Regions from separate parts of the Homo sapiens genome. Here region 2 is linked to region 1. Evidence: promoter capture Hi-C in 16 types of primary human blood cells and fetal thymus (Javierre and others, 2016). All regions are on one chromosome and are shown on one strand. The core of a region is centred on a gene start or on the middle of the fragment in contact, and the rest is flanking DNA. Distances in the headings are between cores, read along the strand shown. Region 1 holds the start of BACH2 (BACH transcriptional regulator 2). Region 2 overlaps LOC105377891 (a long non-coding RNA gene).

Region 1 (3,830 bases), core at 859-3,358:
CCCGCTGCCTTACCAAAATAGCCCTCTCCGCCAAAGGAGGGGCAGCCTTTCACGCTCAGCTTCTTTCATGTCAGCCCGAGCCTTTGCAGCAAGACGTGCCTTTCCTACATGTTACATTTTAATGATCTGAGAAAACCGTTATCAGCGTTAACATCTCTAATTTTACTCTAAACAGACAAAAGCAAAATATCTCATTAGGCATCATCTCCGCCAAGGTTCCCACTAGGCAGGAAAGGATTTTTATCTAAAGTAATTACCCTTTTTAGTTAAATACACTCAACAGATGAAATTTACAGAGAGTGAGAGACTGCAGCACTAGACAGCGAAGGTGAAAACCAGGAACGCCGCGTCTCGCCGCCCGCGGGCCCGCCGGGAGACTGCGGGTCCGTCTCGCGGGTGGGGCGCCCCGGTCCCTCTCGTTTCCTGGAGGCCACAGGTCACGGCGACGGCGGTGACCGGGAGAGCAGGCTGCGAGGCGCGCCTCATCGGGCCACAGACAAACCACCCCGGCAGCGGCCGCGCCGGAACTTCCCTCAAGTTACCAAACTCGCCTACGCGCGGGAGAGTGCTGGGGATGCCCCATGCGCCCGCGACCCCAGAAGCCAGGAGTGTGCCACCCCTTCACACACTCACTCCCGGCCCTGCACGCTTCCCCTCACGGTCCGAGTTCCTGCAAATGCTTGGCCAGACCGAGGTCGCCGAGATGCTCGCTCCAGTCTCTCCCCTCGTGGGCACCTAGGGTAGCCCGTGAGCGCCGCCCGCCGCCGTCTCCAGCGGCGCCGGGCTCCCGAACACCCGCCGGGTGAGCGAAGCACAGCGGGGCCACGGAGCGCCTCGACGCGGGGACGGGGAGGGCAGTGTCCCCTTCATAAACCAGTCTCCTGGGTGAAGCTTCTGGGGCTTGGAGACTGGAGTGTAGGGTGTGTGTGTGTGTGTGTGTGTGTGTGTGTTGCACCTTGACTTCATGGAGGATCTGTGGGAGAGGAGGTGCAAGGTTTCCCTCTCAGAAGCCTGGCGCCCTTAGGTCTTAGCTACGCGGGACGCTTTCCGACAACCCGATCTTTCGCTAGGAGAGATTCGATCCAGGTCTGCGCCGCGAGGCCCCCAGCTCGCCTCTTCCTGCGACCCTAAACTTGGGCTTTGATTCCCCGCCGGTCGCGGTGGTCCGGGCCACCCGGCGGCGGCTGACAGCTGAGCGCAAAGGCGCCGCGGCCAAGGTCCTCGCGGAGCAGCCCGGGATGCGCACGCCGAGGGTTAAGGAGGAGGCCGCCCGGCCTGGAGCTGGGATCGCAGGCTGGGGGCCGGGACACCCGGGCCTCGCCGGGCCGGGGGCAGGGCCGCGGGTCTGACAGCTGCTGCGGCTCGCGCGGACGCGCGCCTCCTGCAGCCCGCCCTCCCCATGCCTGACTTATTACTCTCTGCTCCTCCTCCCTCTGCTGTTCCAAAACACCCTTCGACGCCAGCAAAATACAATGCGCCTCGGCCGCCGTAAACAGCCGGGAGGGAGAGCACACATTCGGCGCGGCGCGGCCGCCGGCTCGGCTCCCACCCCCTTCCCGTTCCTAGAAAATGCCATAAAAGCGGGCAGGGCGCGGGGAGGGCGGCTGCGCGCCCGGCGGCCGGGGCTCCCTTCCCGCGCCGTTTCCCCACGCCTCCCCGCCCGCCCCGCGCGCCCGCTCCCCCCGCAAACTTGCCCCGCCACCCCGCCCAGCGGCGGGGCCCGGGGCCCGGGGCCCGGGACTCACCTCGCCGGAGAACTTTGCGTCCTTTTCCGCCTCCTCTTCCCCGCGTCTTCCCGGCTCGCAGCCCCCTCCCGGCAGCCGGCGAGGTGGGCAGTTCGTGGGTCACCGAAAGCTCGCGGAGGGGACGCGCATCACATGGCAGCTCGTTCCCAGCCCCCCGAGTGCGCCGGGAAGGGGGAGGGGAAGGGGCGAGGGGAGGCCGGGGGGAAAGCGAGAGCGGGGCGGCGGCGGGAGTGGGCAGGCGGGGTGGCGAGGGCGGCGGCCGCTCACGTTAGCGCTGTGCGACCGCAGCCCGGGCGTGCACGGCCGCTGCTGCCGCTGCTGCTGCTGCTGCTGCTGCTGAGGCGGCGGCGGCTCGGCGCTGTTTGCTCCGCGCCGCGCGGCTTGCGCTCTCCCCGGAACGCCCACACTCTCAATCGCTACATTGTTGACATTCGGCGCTGACGTCACCCGCTCCCCATTCACAATAACTTTACGGGAGCCGGGCAGCGCACCTCCCCGGCCGCTGGGGCGCGGTACGCCCGGCGACTAGCGTAAGCCGCTCCGCGAATGGCGCTCCGGGGGCTGGGGCGGGGGGCGGGGGACGGGGGCGGGCGCGCGCGCTCCGCTGGCTCGCGGGAGGGGGCGCGCCTCATGCCGCCGCAGCAGCAGATCTCCCCGCTTTGTGCGGCCGCGCGGCCCGGAGAGCCCCCTCCTCCCGGCCCGGCTGACCGCCCCGCTCGGCCTGGCCTTCCCGGCCACGAAAGACGAGGGTTGGGGGCATAGCAGGGTGAGAGTAGTGGTGAGGGCTGGTGTGGCACGTGGGGAGGGGGCCAGAGCCCTAGGTGCTGCACCTGGGGAAGGAGAGCAGACGTCGGGACCGGGGATCCCAGGGTTAGCTAGCGTTTTCCCGGAAGGGCAAGAAAAGATGCTCCACTGGCCCCCACAAAGCTGACCGGACTCCCTTTTGGGTGGGGACCGGGCGAGTAAAAGCAGCCTTTTGAATGTTGACTTCTCAATCCTTTTCAGGAGGCCCTCCGCCTGCCCTACTGAGCGAACCTTTAAGCCCCCAAGCCAGTGTTTTTGGAAAGAGAGTGGTCAATTTCAGGAGGACATTAAAAGCCAACCTCCCGGGCTTCAGCCCCAGCTCCTACTGCCTTCCAGCCACTCTCCCCTGCCTTTCCTTTCTGCGGCTCTTAGGATGTTGTTGCTGCCCTTAAAGGCCGTCGTGTGAGTGCCCTGTCAGAAGAAAGCTTGGTGGTGGTTAGGATTTTACAGAAGGTAATTAGGATTTAGGCTGAATGTACATTTGCAATAAAATAAGGTTGTGTTAGTGTTGTGCTGGTGCCTGCAACTTTACCTCTTGCCAAGGCCAGAAAATTCTGCCACGTTTCCCTAAACACCTATAACTTGGCCCTCTTGTGTACAGGCAGTATTCCATATTATTACACGTGGTGCTGATTTTTAATGAATATTATAAAAGTTTGGCTCGCTCTACTGAGAGAAGGATCATAAATCCCCCCTGTAAAACGGGCACTGGCGTATGCTGAGGAAGCAGTGAAGCGTCCTGGGAGTCTTGTGATATCATCTAAAGTGTTGCTCTGAACTACCTTCATTTGAGGGCAGAGTTTTGAAAGGCCCCATTTGGAATGTCTGTGTGGAAAGCTAAGTGATGGCTGAAAGCAAGCTGAAGGTGCTGAGCTAATTTTTCTAACAGCACTGCAGAGTCCCTGCGTGGAGGTCTGGCACGGGACTGTGAGATTTTCTCTGCTAACCGACCCGGCCTTCAGATAAGGAAAAGTCCTAGAGCTAGGAGTAGCCCTCAGTCTCCTGACCTCTGGTCTGGTGCCCCCTAGGACAAAACACCCTGCTTCTGAGGTCCCTGCCTGACCCCTGGCAAGGACAGAGTACTAATTCCTGGTCTGCCCTGGCCAGGCCGTTTCTTATAGTTTTATGGATGGTTCTGTTTCTCATTCCTCATTCTTGTAAGTATGTGTTTGTGAGATAACTTTACGCATTTTAGTAGCAGCAATAAATGTTTTTCTCACAACAAGGGATGCTTGAGAGCATCCGTATGAGAGTGGTGTAGATTCATTTATTTTCAAGCAA
Region 2 (3,904 bases), core at 504-3,003, 50 kb after region 1:
CCAATGGTATGATGTGTTTCTTGTTGGGCTTGGAGTATAGGTGCAGGGTATTGTGTGGGGGTTTCTTGCTCTGGTCACAGATTCTACTGAATCTCAAATACCAGTTAGTTTGGGGTATGCTCCTGTCCCTGACAGTGTGCCAGTGGAATGACAAGAATATTATTGTGAAGAGCACATTTTCTTCATGGAGTTTCTTATTTCACTGATACACAAAACCCCACAATGGTAGCTCTGACCTGGTGTGGTCAATGCTGAATGTGCCCCAGCTCCTCATAGCCCCTGCTTCAGGATGGAGGTGCTCATTCCCTCAGCTGCTGGGAGTGATGGCTGACAGCTTGTAGTGGAGTAATCCCTCCTGGTAATTGCCCTTGGCTGAAGAGAGGCATTGGGCCCCTTTCTGGGGGTAGCCTGCACTCGATGACTGACATATGAGAACATAAAGACCCTGCCTCTTAATTTGGATTGGAACAACTCTGCAGGGTCATCTCAGCTTCAGAGCATCCCGTGGGGGTCAGTTGAGGCTTTTGTGATGCCTGAATGTAGTCCAGCTTCTCCTTCTGTCCAATCCTGTTTCCTCTACTCTCCCATAGGTGTGGTTCCCAGGGACCCTCCCAAATACACTTCCAATCTGTTTCTGGAGGACCTGACCTGTAACTCCTGACAATATGTTCTGAATGCTGAAGGATGGAGATACACTTTGGAGTAAGATTCATATGAACTTTCATAAATTCTTGGGGTAAGGGTAATATATTTTTTACTTACTTAAACTCTTTCCCCAGTCCCTTCCTTCCTCAAGTTCCCTAGTCTTAATTGATTCCTAAATTGTACACATAGGCTTTAAAAATTTGACATTCTTTTTTTCTGATGGAAGATATAATTCGTCTTTAATGTAAAAAATTCAAACGTGAAGTATATACATATACATGCTTGAGTGCACATCAAATAGCCATCATTTACTTGAAGGTCTAATGTAGCCTCTGCATCCTCACACAGCTCTGAACATTGAATAGCTCTGCTCTGAGCTATTCAAAGGTCTGTGTATGACCTTTACACCTGGAATAATACTTCTGAAGATAGATGGGCATTGACAATAAGAATAATAGTACTATATGGAATTAGTTTACAAAGCACTTTCAACCCATTATATTGATTTATTTCACCGCATCCTTGAGAAAGCCTGGCCATGTTAGCCCTATTTAATATATGGGGAGTAACTTGCTGAAGTGGGTTATAGGAAATTTCTTCTGACAAGCTCCAATTTCTGTTACCAGCCAATGGACTCAAGCCCCTCATTCAAAGAAAACACCAGAAGAGACTTGGTGTTTTGTGAAATGGCACATTCCAAAATCTCTGTCACTGAGAAAAGGATGTAAGCTCAGGATCAAAGCATCGTCTTCAAAGAAGGGTAAGGTACTTGTTAAATAACTCCTGGCAATTGCTTAAGCACCAGGCATTGTAATTTCAGATAGTAGGAACAGAACTAAAAATAGAGAAGTGGATAGGGACAGGACCAGAGACATCATTGTCACTCAAACTTGAATGTCATTTTTGACAGCATTCGAGCAATTGATTCTTGATTCTCCACATTAGGAATTTAGTAGTCACGTTTTGCTGTGACAGCCCTAGGAGAAGAGAAGGGGCAGGACCCTGGGAAGAGTATAAAGAATGGAGGGTGAGAATTATTATCAGCCTGTGGTGCCTCTTTCTAGTCACGGTTCCTTTGATGGAAAAAAAAGGGCGGCGGGGTGGGGGATGAGAAGGAGCAGAAAGCTATTCAAGCTAGCTCCAATTTCCTGAAATGTTAAAGAGAAATCTCATGGACAGGATATGCAATCAGTCCCTGTGAAAGATTGGACCTGAGAACCAGAAAGCCACCAGGAGCTAAGCCATTCTCTTTATCTTCAGGAGCTACAGAGATCTCTGTCTCTGAAAATCTTCATCCTTTCTCCTAAACCTGCTTCCTCTGCATACTCATCTTGCTCACTTCCTCCCACGCAGCTCCCAGTCCACCTTAGTCTCATGATTTCCAAGCTCCAGTAGTCATTGGCAATTGATGACAGTCTCTGTGTCTCCTGGGCAAATTGTTATAAGGAGAAGACTGATCAGTCCAGATCACGTGTTGCTTCACATTGGAGCAGCTGCTTTGGGGTTAGATGTCTAACCCTGGTACACTCAGCCATGGTTGGAGGAGATGGGGAGGGTGGTTATGGGGTAGGGAGTGATGCTCTTTCTAGGTAACCTGGCAGACTAGATTCTCCAGAAGGGGCCATGAGTAGGGCAGGCAAGGAGACCTGTTTATTATATCCTTGCTGACCCATGTTTCCATCCTGTTCTGAATCATGTTCCATGAGCTAGTCTAGTATATAGAAGTTGGGTAATCATAGCAGGGAGTCATTGTGTAGAGTGTGGCATCTGCTCTAAATGGGTTTATCATCTGGTTGATGCAATAAGGCACACGCCCAAGAAAAGGAAAACCTATCAGGCAGTGCCTACTGAGCATCAGATGACTGGCATGGGCATTATGGGTTTTAAACATTTAGAGGAGGAGAGATCATAGTGGCTAAGCGCAAGAAGTATTGCCCAAGAGAGGTGGGGATGGACATGGGTCTTGAGGGGTGGGAAGGATTTGGAGAGAAAGAGGGGAGGAGAGGAGAATAGGAATACATGACACATGCCCAGGGCACAGTGAATAGACCAAACTATTTTAAGCATAAGCTGTGTGTTGGAAAGTACAGAAAGGTATGTTAGGGAAAATAGGTAGAAATGAAATTGTGTAGGACTTTGAATACCAAACTAAATAGTTTGGATTTTATTCTGAACATTGTGTGAATGGTGCTTGCTAAGGGCATGGCATGGTCAGGGCCATGCTCTAGGATCACCCTCTGCAGTGGAGGAGGCCAGAGATTATGGGGAGACCATTACAATGTGACCAGTATCATGGGCAATAGGCTCGAATATGAGGAGATAAGGTCAAAAGGCTTTGGAAAGAAAAGGAAATCTCTGTTATTTAAAGTCTCGGTTGCCGGTTGACTGTGTCCAGGGAAGCAACTGCCAGAAGCTGTGGTCTTTAGCTACCTGCAACCCAAATGTCTCTGGCTGCTGCAGCCTGTGAGTGAAAATACCACCACATAAAAATTAGCACCCAGATATTAAGAACTCTGAGCTCCCATGTACACATAGTCTCCATAGAGTTCTTCTTTTGACCAGAGAGCTTGGATGAAAAATCTAGTAAATTGGCAGAAAAGGAGTCTATCAGAAGCATATCTAATTGCTCATACATGGATGGGAAGTGTGGGAAAACTGGCTGGGAAAATAACAGCCAAGTTCATGTCATCCATCCTTCCCAATGAACCCTTGACTCCACTGTCATAGCCATGAATAAACTCCTTCCAGAGCCAAAGTCTTACGTGGGCATCTGATTGACTGAGTCTAGGTCATCTTCGTAAGCCCTGGATTGTAGTGAATTACAGGAGGGAAATCAAGGTTGGGTGTCCTGGCTCATGCCTGTAATCCCAGCACTTTGGGAGGCTACAGAAGGAGGATCCGTTGAGCCCAGGAGTTCAAGACCAGCTTGGGCAATGTAGTGAGACCTCATCACCATTTTAAAAATTAGCCAAGTGAGGCAGTGTGCACCTGTACACCTAGCTACTTATAAGGCTGAGGTGGGAGAGGATTGCTTGAGCCCAGGAGTTTGAGGGTGCAGTGAGCTTTGATAGCACCACTGCATTCAAGACTGGGCAGCAGAGCAAGACACTGTCTCTAAAAGAAAATAAATAAATAAATGGGGGACATTTTAACTCTTTTATTGTTTAACTCAGCCCCTTTTAACTTTTACAGAGGGACAGATGGGGCTGTGTCTCCCACTAGGACCTACACTCTTGGTGATATTCTGAATAAGGAAGAG

The links. The method cuts DNA at HindIII sites, captures the fragments that hold promoters and counts their contacts. A CHiCAGO score of 5 or more calls a contact.
Region 2: a fragment that was not itself captured here is called in contact with the fragment with the promoter of BACH2 in region 1 in 6 of 17 cell types (total B cells, naive B cells, activated CD4 T cells and 3 more); the score reaches 13.5 in total B cells.

What each region holds. Positions count from the first base shown.
Region 1 is chr6:90,294,735-90,298,564 of GRCh38, forward strand. BACH2 (BACH transcriptional regulator 2) reads right to left here and starts at 2,109. Exons shown (of 9, transcript NM_021813.4): 1 at 1,746-2,109. It overlaps LOC105377891 (a long non-coding RNA gene), which reads left to right and starts at 2,505. Exons shown (of 7, transcript XR_942778.4): 1 at 2,505-3,002. It overlaps LOC124901361 (a long non-coding RNA gene), which reads right to left and starts at 472. Exons shown (of 2, transcript XR_007059676.1): 1 at 1-472. RefSeq lists enhancers at 415-504, 3,822-3,830 and silencers at 1,288-1,347, 1,973-2,022. The HindIII fragment of the contact is 2,083 bases long and covers 890-2,972 here.
Region 2 is chr6:90,345,386-90,349,289 of GRCh38, forward strand. LOC105377891 (a long non-coding RNA gene) reads left to right here. Exons shown (of 7, transcript XR_942778.4): 3 at 1-6; 4 at 591-736; 5 at 1,272-1,405. Among named protein-coding and RNA genes, the nearest start is that of MIR4464, 35 kb to the left of the region's middle. The HindIII fragment of the contact is 4,845 bases long and covers 1-3,904 here.